Linked DNA regions of Homo sapiens: region 2 is linked to region 1. Evidence: promoter capture Hi-C in 16 types of primary human blood cells and fetal thymus (Javierre and others, 2016). All regions are on one chromosome and are shown on one strand. Each heading gives the region's core, a stretch centred on a gene start or on the middle of the fragment in contact. The rest is flanking DNA. Distances are from core to core; before and after follow the strand shown. Region 1 holds the start of SYNGR1 (synaptogyrin 1). Region 2 overlaps FAM83F (family with sequence similarity 83 member F).

What was found. Contacts are between HindIII fragments. The CHiCAGO score rates a contact against its expected background, and 5 or more counts as called.
Region 2: a contact is called between a fragment that was not itself captured here and the fragment with the promoter of SYNGR1 in region 1, in 1 of 17 cell types (total B cells). The highest score is 5.2, in total B cells.

What each region holds. Positions count from the first base shown.
Region 1 is chr22:39,347,719-39,351,275 of GRCh38, forward strand. It overlaps SYNGR1 (synaptogyrin 1), which reads left to right and starts at 2,273. Exons shown (of 4, transcript NM_004711.5): 1 at 2,273-2,391. The coding sequence starts at 2,293. RefSeq lists a silencer at 2,320-2,479. The HindIII fragment of the contact is 7,483 bases long and covers 1-3,555 here.
Region 2 is chr22:40,023,738-40,029,246 of GRCh38, forward strand. All of the region lies in intron 4 of FAM83F (family with sequence similarity 83 member F), which reads left to right. Among named protein-coding and RNA genes, the nearest start is that of TNRC6B-DT, 18 kb to the right of the region's middle. RefSeq lists an enhancer at 1,363-1,432. The HindIII fragment of the contact is 6,298 bases long and covers 1-5,509 here.

The DNA.
Region 1 (3,557 bases), core at 1,023-3,522:
CCACATCACACCCAGCTTGTATTTCTGACTAATGATGTTGGGCATCTTTTCTTTTCTTTCTTTCTTTCTTTTTTTTTTTTTTTTTTTTTTTTTGAGACAGAGTCTCGTTCTGTCGCCCAGGCTGGAGTGCAGTGGCGCGATCTCGGCTCACTGCAAGCTCCGCCTCCCGGGTTCACGCCATTCTCCTGCTTCAGCCTCCCGAGTAGCTGGGACTACAGCCACTACACCCGGCTAATTTTTTTTTTTTTTTTTTTGTATTTTTACTAGAGATGAGGTTTCACCGTGTTAGCCAGGATGGTCTCAATCTCCTGACCTCATGATCTGCCCGTCTCGGCCTCCCAAAGTGCTGGGATTATAGGCGTGAGCCACCGCGGATGCTGGGCATCTTTTTATGTGCTGAGTTGCCGTGTGTATATCTTCTTTGGTGAGGTGTATAACTATTCAAATCTTTTGCCCATTTTTTAAAAAGTGGGTCCTCTTATTATTATTGAGTTCGAACGTTCTTTATTTGGGATGCAAGTTCTTTAGATCTATGCTTTGCAAATATTTTCTCCCAGACTATCGTTTGTCTTTTCATACATTCTTTTAACAATGTCTTTTAAAGAACAGAAGTTCTTAATTTTGATAAAGTCCAGTTTATCAATTGTTTCTTTTATGAATCATGTTCTTCATGATTTTTTTTTTTTTTTTTTTTTTTTGAGACGGAGTCTCGCTCTGTTGCCAGGCTGGAGTGCTGTGGCGCGATCTCGGCTCACTGCAACCTCCACCTCCTGGGTTCAAGTGATTCTCCTGCCTCAGCCTCCCAAGTAGCTGGGACTACAGGAGCTCGCCACCACGCCCGGCTAATTTTTGTATTTTTAGTAGAGACCGGGTTCACCATGTTGGCCAGGATGGTCTCAATCACTTGACCTTGTGATCCATCCACCTTGGCCTCCCAAGGTGCTGGGATTACAGGCGTGAACCACTGCGCCCGGCCTTCTCTTGTGCTTTCTTCTAAAAGTTTTATATAGTCATAGTAGACACCTTATAAGTGTGCTGGATTAAATGTGAAAATGTATGTAAAGCCCTTAGCACAAGGCCTGGTAGAGACTAAACAATCAGCTGAGCCTAAGATGGACATTGACTATGTAATTTTTATAAGGAGCACCCTCAGGCCCAGCACACATTTCCTCCACACAGATGTTGTGTCCTGTCATCACAGAATGGCAGGATACCAGAGAAGCAAAAGCCTCCACCCATATCCTCATCCAACCTGCTCCTGGAACCAGTGAAGGTGACTGCAGACATAGAGAGGCCATAGAGCTACAGGGCAGCAGGAGAGCCAGCCCTGGAAGGTGGCCCTTCCCCTGCAGGGAGCACTCCTCCATCTAGCCTCCGTTTCCATGAAACCTGGAGGTCTAGCCCAAGCTGTGATGGGGTGATGGGGACTAGGCTCTGTTTACTGAGCACCTACTGTATGCTAGGCCCTTGGGTAAGGCATTGAATAAGTTAGACAACACCTGGGCCTCGGGAGCTCACAGACTAGCAGCAGAAGAGGCCATGAACAAATGATTGCGTAATTAATTGCTAGATTCAGGAAAGGGGCAACGTTCTGGGGTAGGAGGGGATGGGGAAGAGGAAGTCTCAGCCGCCGCCTCTGTGCCAGGCCCCTCCAGGCTGGGGGTGGGAGGGTGCGCGGGCACAGGGACACACATGACGTCATCGTAAGAGGCAGGGGAAGGGTGGTCCTGGGAGGTGGGGGCTGCTCTGGAGGGCTGTAAGAGAGGGTCATTCACTCGTGGTTCATTCATTCGAGAAATATTCATGCGGCGCCTACTGCGTACCAAGCACCCTCTAAGAAGGACGAACACAGCTCCTGCCCTCTCATTATATTTGGGGCCGACAAAGTGGCAGGAAACAGCCAAACAAATCAAGCGTGAAGATGGTTTCAGCAGAGCCGACGGCTCAGAGGGGCTGCGACCGGGGCAGGGGACCGGGGATGCGGGGCAGGGACACGGCCCACACTTGCTGTGCACGCACCGCCCTCCCCCAAACACTTTGCAAAGAGGTCACCGCACTGGCTGCGAGCGCGCCCTGAGCCCCGGGCCGCAGCACGCGCGCCCCCGCGCCCGAGGTCGCGCGCTGCCCAGCCCCCCGCCCGCGCCCCGCGAGCTGCGCCCGCCGCGCACGACGCCCCCTCGCGGGAGCCCTGGGCCGCCGGCCGCGCGCGCAGGGGAGGGGGCGGGGGCGCCGCGCACGCGCACGGGCCGGCGGCGCGCGCCGAGCGGGGGGCACCGCGCGGGTGCAGCCACGATGGAAGGGGGTGCGTACGGAGCGGGCAAAGCCGGGGGCGCCTTCGACCCCTACACCCTGGTCCGGCAGCCGCACACCATCCTGCGCGTCGTGTCTTGGGTAAGGACGGACTGGCCGACGGCTCTGCCAGGCCGGGGTGGTGGGGGTGTGAGCAAAGGCGGCGCGCCCGGACCGACCCCGACCCCGACCCCAACGGGCCCCCGGCGGCGGCGCGGCGGCGGGCGAGGAGCTGTCCTGCCTGCGGGGCCCGCTGCCGCCGCTCCTCCTTCCCGGGCCCGGGGCGGGCGGGATCCCTGGTGCTCGCGGGAGACGCCGCTCCGGCTCCCGGAGCCCTGGTTTCCTGGGGCCCCCGGTTCGTGCGCCCCCCTTCCCGCCCCGATTGCTGTGACCTCCAGGCCGCGGCTATGCCGCGAAAGGCTCGGATTGTGCGCGGCCGCCAGGGCGGACTGGGGACCGTGGGGACGGAGCCAGGGTTTAAGGTGGCCTTTTTTGGGGGGTGGATCAGGGCGTGGACCATCTCGGTGGGGTGCATGCCGCGCCTGCGATGGACGTTGGAGGAGGAGAGGGCCGGGAACCGGGTTCGTATTGCCTAGCCCGGCCCGTGTGGAGCGATGAGTCGGGAACTGAGTACCTCTCTTCCACCCGGGAACTGCCTCTCCTTCTCTGCGTGACCTTGGGCTGGGAGCCACCCAGGAAATGTTCTCGAGAAATGAGGACTTCAATTCCGAGGTGGGGAGTGTCATCTCCTCTCTCATGCCTCAGTTTCCCAATTTATAGACAAGGTGGGCGGAGCCTTCTTGAGGCCCCCTTGGGCTCTGACATTTCATGAACCGGTAACACCCCTCCCACTCAGCATGCACCTGGATGCCCAAGGCGGGTGTCTGGGAGAAAGGTCTGCTCCCACAGTGAAGAGGCCAGGGTGGCCTCCAGCCTAGCTGGGGGGCAGGGTCCTCAGTGCAGAGGGCTGAGTGGGCTCTTGTTCAGACGGGTGGTCAGGGAGAGGATGGGTCAGAGACAGTGAGCACAGAGGGAGGGGTTCAGGTGCCTTGAGTGGCACCTCATGGAAAGAAGCCCTGCTGGGGTCTGGAGAGGGGGTTTCTGGGGCTCCCTGGGTTTGGCTGGCTGTATCCCAGAAACTCCCACTCGAGGTTCTGGCCTCTGCAGGCCTGGGGCCCGTTCCTTGTGGGCTTAGACTAGGAATGGGCTAGACTGTCAGGGACCCCAGGGGCTACCCCAAGGCCAGCTGTGACCTCAGGGTGCCCAAG
Region 2 (5,509 bases), core at 1,686-4,185, 680 kb after region 1:
CCCTTGGGAAGCTCCTCTCCAGGGCACCTGATGCTGGGATAGAGAGAGAGAGGGAATAGTGAGGGCGAGGGCACGGACAGCCAGGAAGGTCCGGGGATGCCCGGAACCATCATCCCGTTCCTTGTCCGTCCTTTAGACGAACACAGAGCAGCCTCCTCCGGTAAGGCTTCTGCCCACCTGGGTGGGCGCCCAGTACCTGCAGTCCTGAAATTCACGCACCTTTCCTCTCCCTCCCAAGGCCTGAGGGAGAAGCAGCAGCTCCTCTCCTGTCTTTTGCTGGTTTTGTTTGTTTTTAAGACAATGTCTCGCTGGAGTGCAGTGGTGCGACCACAGCTCATTGCAACCTCAACCTCCTCGGTTCAAGCGATTCTCCCACCTCAGCCTCCTGAGTAGCTGGGCTCACAGGTGTGTGCCACCATGCCTGGCTAATTTTTTAAATTGTTTGTATAGACAGGGTCTCATCATGTTGCCCAGGCTGGTCTCCTGGCCTCAAGTGATCCTCCTACCTCTGGGCCTCCCAAAGCGCTGGGATTATAGGCACAAGCCACCGCGCCTGGCCAGGAGCTCCTCTCCTAAGAGGCCCTTTTTCACGGCCTCCAGCTTCCCACACCATGGCCAAGTGGGGCTGCTTCAGTGTCTCCCCTCAGGCAGCAGCAGCTAAGCAGCCAGGACTGCATGTGTGAGAAGGTGGGCCCCTGACAGCATGGGGCACCCACCGTGGGAATCAGTGAGAACCTGAGCTCCTGCCTTTGGGCCCCCATGCAGGGAAAGTGTCCCCTTCCCCTGGTAAATGTTCAGAACCTCCCAGAGCAGCTGCCACCTGGCTCTCAATTCGGGACACATTGCTCCCTGTACCCAGGACACATCCGTCCCCTCCCTGGGGCTGTGTTCTCATCTAGAAGGTGGGGGAGTGCACCATTGAGGGTTTCCGAGGTCCCCTGGAGTTCAGATTCTGCCTCTGTTCTTTCTGTCTCTGCTGCCCTCTTGTCAAGGGAGAACCTGAGTTGATGACAGTTTCTGTCATAAGAGAAAAAATAGAAAAAGCTCAGAGCTGACAGCCTGTAAAATTGCTTGATAAGGAGTATATAGTTGTCAAACAGCATGCAAATTTTTGCAAACCCAGGTGTGGCCCTTGGGAGAACCTTAGGGAAGTTGCTTCCTCCTTTCCGGCTGGGGATCCAGCTGGGGGCCAGGGGTGCCCAGCGGTTTCAAGGCTCACGGCGCACTCTAGTGGCAGAAGCTAGGCGCCTCTTCTACGTCTTCCCTCCGCCCTCGCCTCCTGCTGGGAGTGTTCATCCCTTATTCTGGAGCTTCTGTGCCCTCCGCACAGGCTCCCTGGGTCAGGGACCCCCAAACTCACAGAGCAGCCTCAGTGGAGAGCCTTGGTAAACATGCAACGAGGCCAGGCGCGGTGGCTCATGCCTGTAATCCCAGTGCTTTGGGAGGCTGAGCTGGGAAGATCCCTTGAGCCCAGGAGTTCCAGACTAGCCTGGGCAACATAGCAAGTCCCCATCTCTTAAAAAAAAATTTAATTAGCTGGGGGTAGTGCCGTGTGCCTGTAGTCCCAGCTACTTGGGAGGTGGAGGCAGGAGGATCACTTGAGCCTGGGAAGTCGAGGCTGCAGTCAGCTGTGATTGTGCCACTGCACTCCAGTCTGGACGACAGAGAGACCCTGTCTCAAAAAAATAAAAGCAAAAGTAAATACAAATTTTAAAATGCAACAAATACGCTTGGAGAGGCCGAGGCAGGTGGATCACCTGAGGTCAGGAGTTCGAGACCAGCCTGGCCAACATGGTGAAACCCTGTCTCTACTGAAAATACAAAAATTAGCTGGGCATGGTGGGAGGTGCCTATAATCCCAGCTACTTGGGAGGCTGAAGCAGGAGAATCACTTGAACCCAGGAGGCAGAGGCTGCAGTGAGCTGAGATCACACCAGCCTGGGTGACAGAGCGAGACTCCATCTCAAAATAATAATAATAGAATTTTTAAAGATAAAAATAAAATCCAACAAATAGAGTCTGTACCACTGGGCAGGGCTTAGGAATCTGCATTTTAAATTAGGGCCCTCATTTTCCAGTGTAGCTCCCCAGTGCAGAGGGTCCTCAGACCAGCCGACTCCGTGGCGACTGAGGAAACACAGATGAGGCCCTGCCCTTTGAGTGCTGCCAGCCTAGGGGAGGAGATCCCTGTGCTGTGCCTGAGACCCCACCCAGTTCCCCCAGGGAGATGACTGGGAAATGGCCAACACTTTTGAAGTGGCGAGAGACATGGTGCCATACTCCATCACATGGAACTGGCGTCCTCCTCGCTGCCATCCTGCCTGATGACAGCATCTCACAATGAGACCCCCAAGGTTCAGAGAGGCCAGGCCCTGTGTCCGTGGCTGCCCAGGGAGAAAGGGCAGTGTGATCTCCTGCCTCCCCAGCCTTCTGCAGATATCATGGCCATCTCCAGAAGGCTAGGATCGGCACCGTTTCCCTGCACCTTTAAAGACTGTTTGGGCCCGGCGTGGTGGCTCATGCCTGTAATCCCAGCACTTTTGGAGGCCTAGGTGGGCAGATCATGAGGTCAGGAGATCGAGATCATCCTGGCTAACACGGTGAAATCCTGTCTCTACTAAAAATACAAAAAATTAGCCAGGCATGGTGGCACTTGCCTGTAGTCCCAGCTACTCGGGAGGCTGAAACAGGAGAATCTCTTGAACCCGGGAGGTGGAGGTTGCAGTGAGTGGAGATCACACCACTGCACTCCAGCCTGGGTGACACAGTAGGAATCTGTCTCAAAAAACAAAACAAAACAAAACAAAAAACTGTTCGGAAGAACCAGAGCCCCAAATAGAGGACCAGCCCTTTCCCACGGTGTTGTGGGGGCCGAGAGGAAGATGACAGCAGCAACTTGCTTCCCAGAGTGCCTCGGGGTCCTTTCCTGCCCCAGAGTCCCTGGGCCTGTGCTTTGCTTCCCAGTTTCTCTGAGGTGACCTGCAGTGACAGTCCCTTTCCAGAACTCTCCTGGGGTCCCTGGATTTATGTGTGGTTGGCCCCCTGGCTGGCAGTGTGGTCTGGCTCTGTAGAGCTGTGGCTGCTGGGCCGCTGGATTGGGGGACTTGTTCTCCTGTGTCATCCCTTGGGGCCGCAGGTCTCAGATCTCTCTCTTGCTCTTGCTGCGTCTGGGGCATCTGCTGCTGTTATTACTGTTGTTACTAGGATTGTGCTAAACCCCTAAGTAGCTCGCCGTTGCTGTCTCATGCATTTTATTCAATAAATATGTGTCTACGAAGTGTCTGCTCTGTGCCAGGCCCTGCTCTAAGTTCCTGGCACAGCTGTGAACAGAATGAACATGGTCCTTGCTTTTATGGAGCATGTTACCCTGGGGAGAGACGAGGATTAGGGGAGGATGACCCTTCTATAAAGGGTGCCAGGGAAGGCCTCTCTAACCAAGGAGCCTCGGAGCAAGACTTCAATGGAAGGAGAGGGCCCTGTGGACATCTGAGGGAAGATTCTTCCAGATACAGGGAATGCGAAGCCCTGGAGCCTGTGCATGCGGTTTGCACATCATTGTCCTTGTCATGGCTTCCATGTGGGTGACCTCTGCCTCCCTCTCTCCCGCACCACCTCACCTGCCAGCAAACCAGACTGACTGCAGGTCCCGAGTGCCCCAGGCTGCCACCCTCACCCCATGCTTATGTCACATGGCTCCGCTCCGCTGAGCGGCCCCTCCTCCCACCCTGCACCCGTTTTCAGCTCCACCTTGGCGTCACCTCTGAAGCTCCCAGGCCACGCATACTTTGTAAAAAAGACTATTCTGGTCATTTATACACCTTCCCTGTTCACCTGAGCAGGGCTGACTCCCCACACGTGGTCAGCTCCCAATATGTGAGCACTCAGGGAATGACAAGGGACACAGAGTTTGTCCTCAAGCCAAGCCAGTTTCTCTGTCCTGTCCGGGGCTAGGAAATGAATTCTGAGTCTAGGTGCTGTCTCCAGGCTTTCACCCTGCCTTACAAAAAAGTGGGGAGCATGGTGCTGGTGAAGATGGGCCCTGCCCCTGCCTTGCCAGGCTTCTCCCGGAGGCAGCCAGCCGGGTGGTGTGCAGGCTTGGGAAGCAGCTACCCCCACCACCACCCACCACCATCCCACCCCCAGCTACACCGCCTCCCCTGTTTAACGATCTGGAGGTTGATTTGCTTACCTGCCTCCAAAATGCTGCTGCCTCTGGGGAGGAACTGACATCTGCTTAGTGGGCCACGCAAATCAAACCAGCTGATGGGGGGAAATGGGGACGAATGTGTCCATTGCAGCAGTGAGTGACTCTAAGATGGCCGCATTTCATCCCACTAGCAGAGCCGCCCCAGACGTGCTCGGCACCACTGCGGAAAGTGACCCCCAGCGCCTTGGCCATGGAGCCCTTGGGGCGCAGCCTCCTGCCCAAAGGTGGGGGAACACCCTTAATGAGGGTGCAGCTGGATTTGTGGTCAGTCCTGAAGAGCTCGTTCAGTCTGCCTGGATGGATGAGGCCCGAGGCCGTGGGTCACAGTGCAGTGGGCAGGAGCAGCAGCCTGTGTGGCAGGGCAGGGCTCCAAGTTGGGCTCTGTTCAGTGGGTCCTGCTCATGGCCCAGGAGAGGAGGCAGACATGGCCTTAATTAAATTCACAGCTGAAGTGATACTGGAAGGTTGTGTGAGCACCAGAGAGGCAGCCCTTGCTGTGTGGAGGGGAACTGGCAGGAAATAACACGAGCGCCTTCCACCTGGGGAAAGGCAGCCAGCGCTCCGAGGACATGGGCTCCCCGCTCCAGCGCCTGACACCTCGCAGGCCTGCAGGTGTCAGGCCTGCCTCGCTACTCCCCTGCACTCCCTCCGGAGGTCCGAGAGCAGGAATCCAGCCAAAGGAACCGCAGGCCTCATCTCAGGACTGTAAAGAGAGTGGGAAGGAATGGTAGAGGCCTGGGGAAGAAGAGAAATCAGCTTCTCTGGCCGGGGGCGGGGGACAGCTTTCTCTCCCCCTTCCCTCCCTACAGGCAGCGCGTTCCTCTCTGTCCTCCCTTCAAAGGCGCGTCCTAAGCAGTGTGATCCACCCCACGGTGGCAGCTCTTGGCCAGCGCCAGCCTTTCCTGAGGCGCCAGCTTTCCTTCTTCCAGCCTAGGCGGCCTGTGGCGGAAGGAGCTGGAACTGGACCGGGAAGGCCAGGTTCTGGCACTGTCGCTGGCTGGCTCTGGGAGCTGTGGGCACCTCAGCGGTAGAATGCGGCAGCCCGGGAGGGGAACCAGAGAGAAGGACCGCAGTCTTACTTTGCAGGCGGTGGAGCTGCATGTACTAGCTGGTAGTGAGCGGCCTCTTGGCTAGACGTGTGTGTGTGTGTGTGTGTGTGTGTGTGTGTGTGTGTGTGTGTGTGTGTGTGAAAGCAAGTTTATTAGAAAAGTAAAGAAACAAAAGAATGGCTAGTCTGTAGACAGAGCAGCCAAGACTTTGGACTTGATGGTTGTTGTCATTGATTCTGCAGCCTGGATCCTT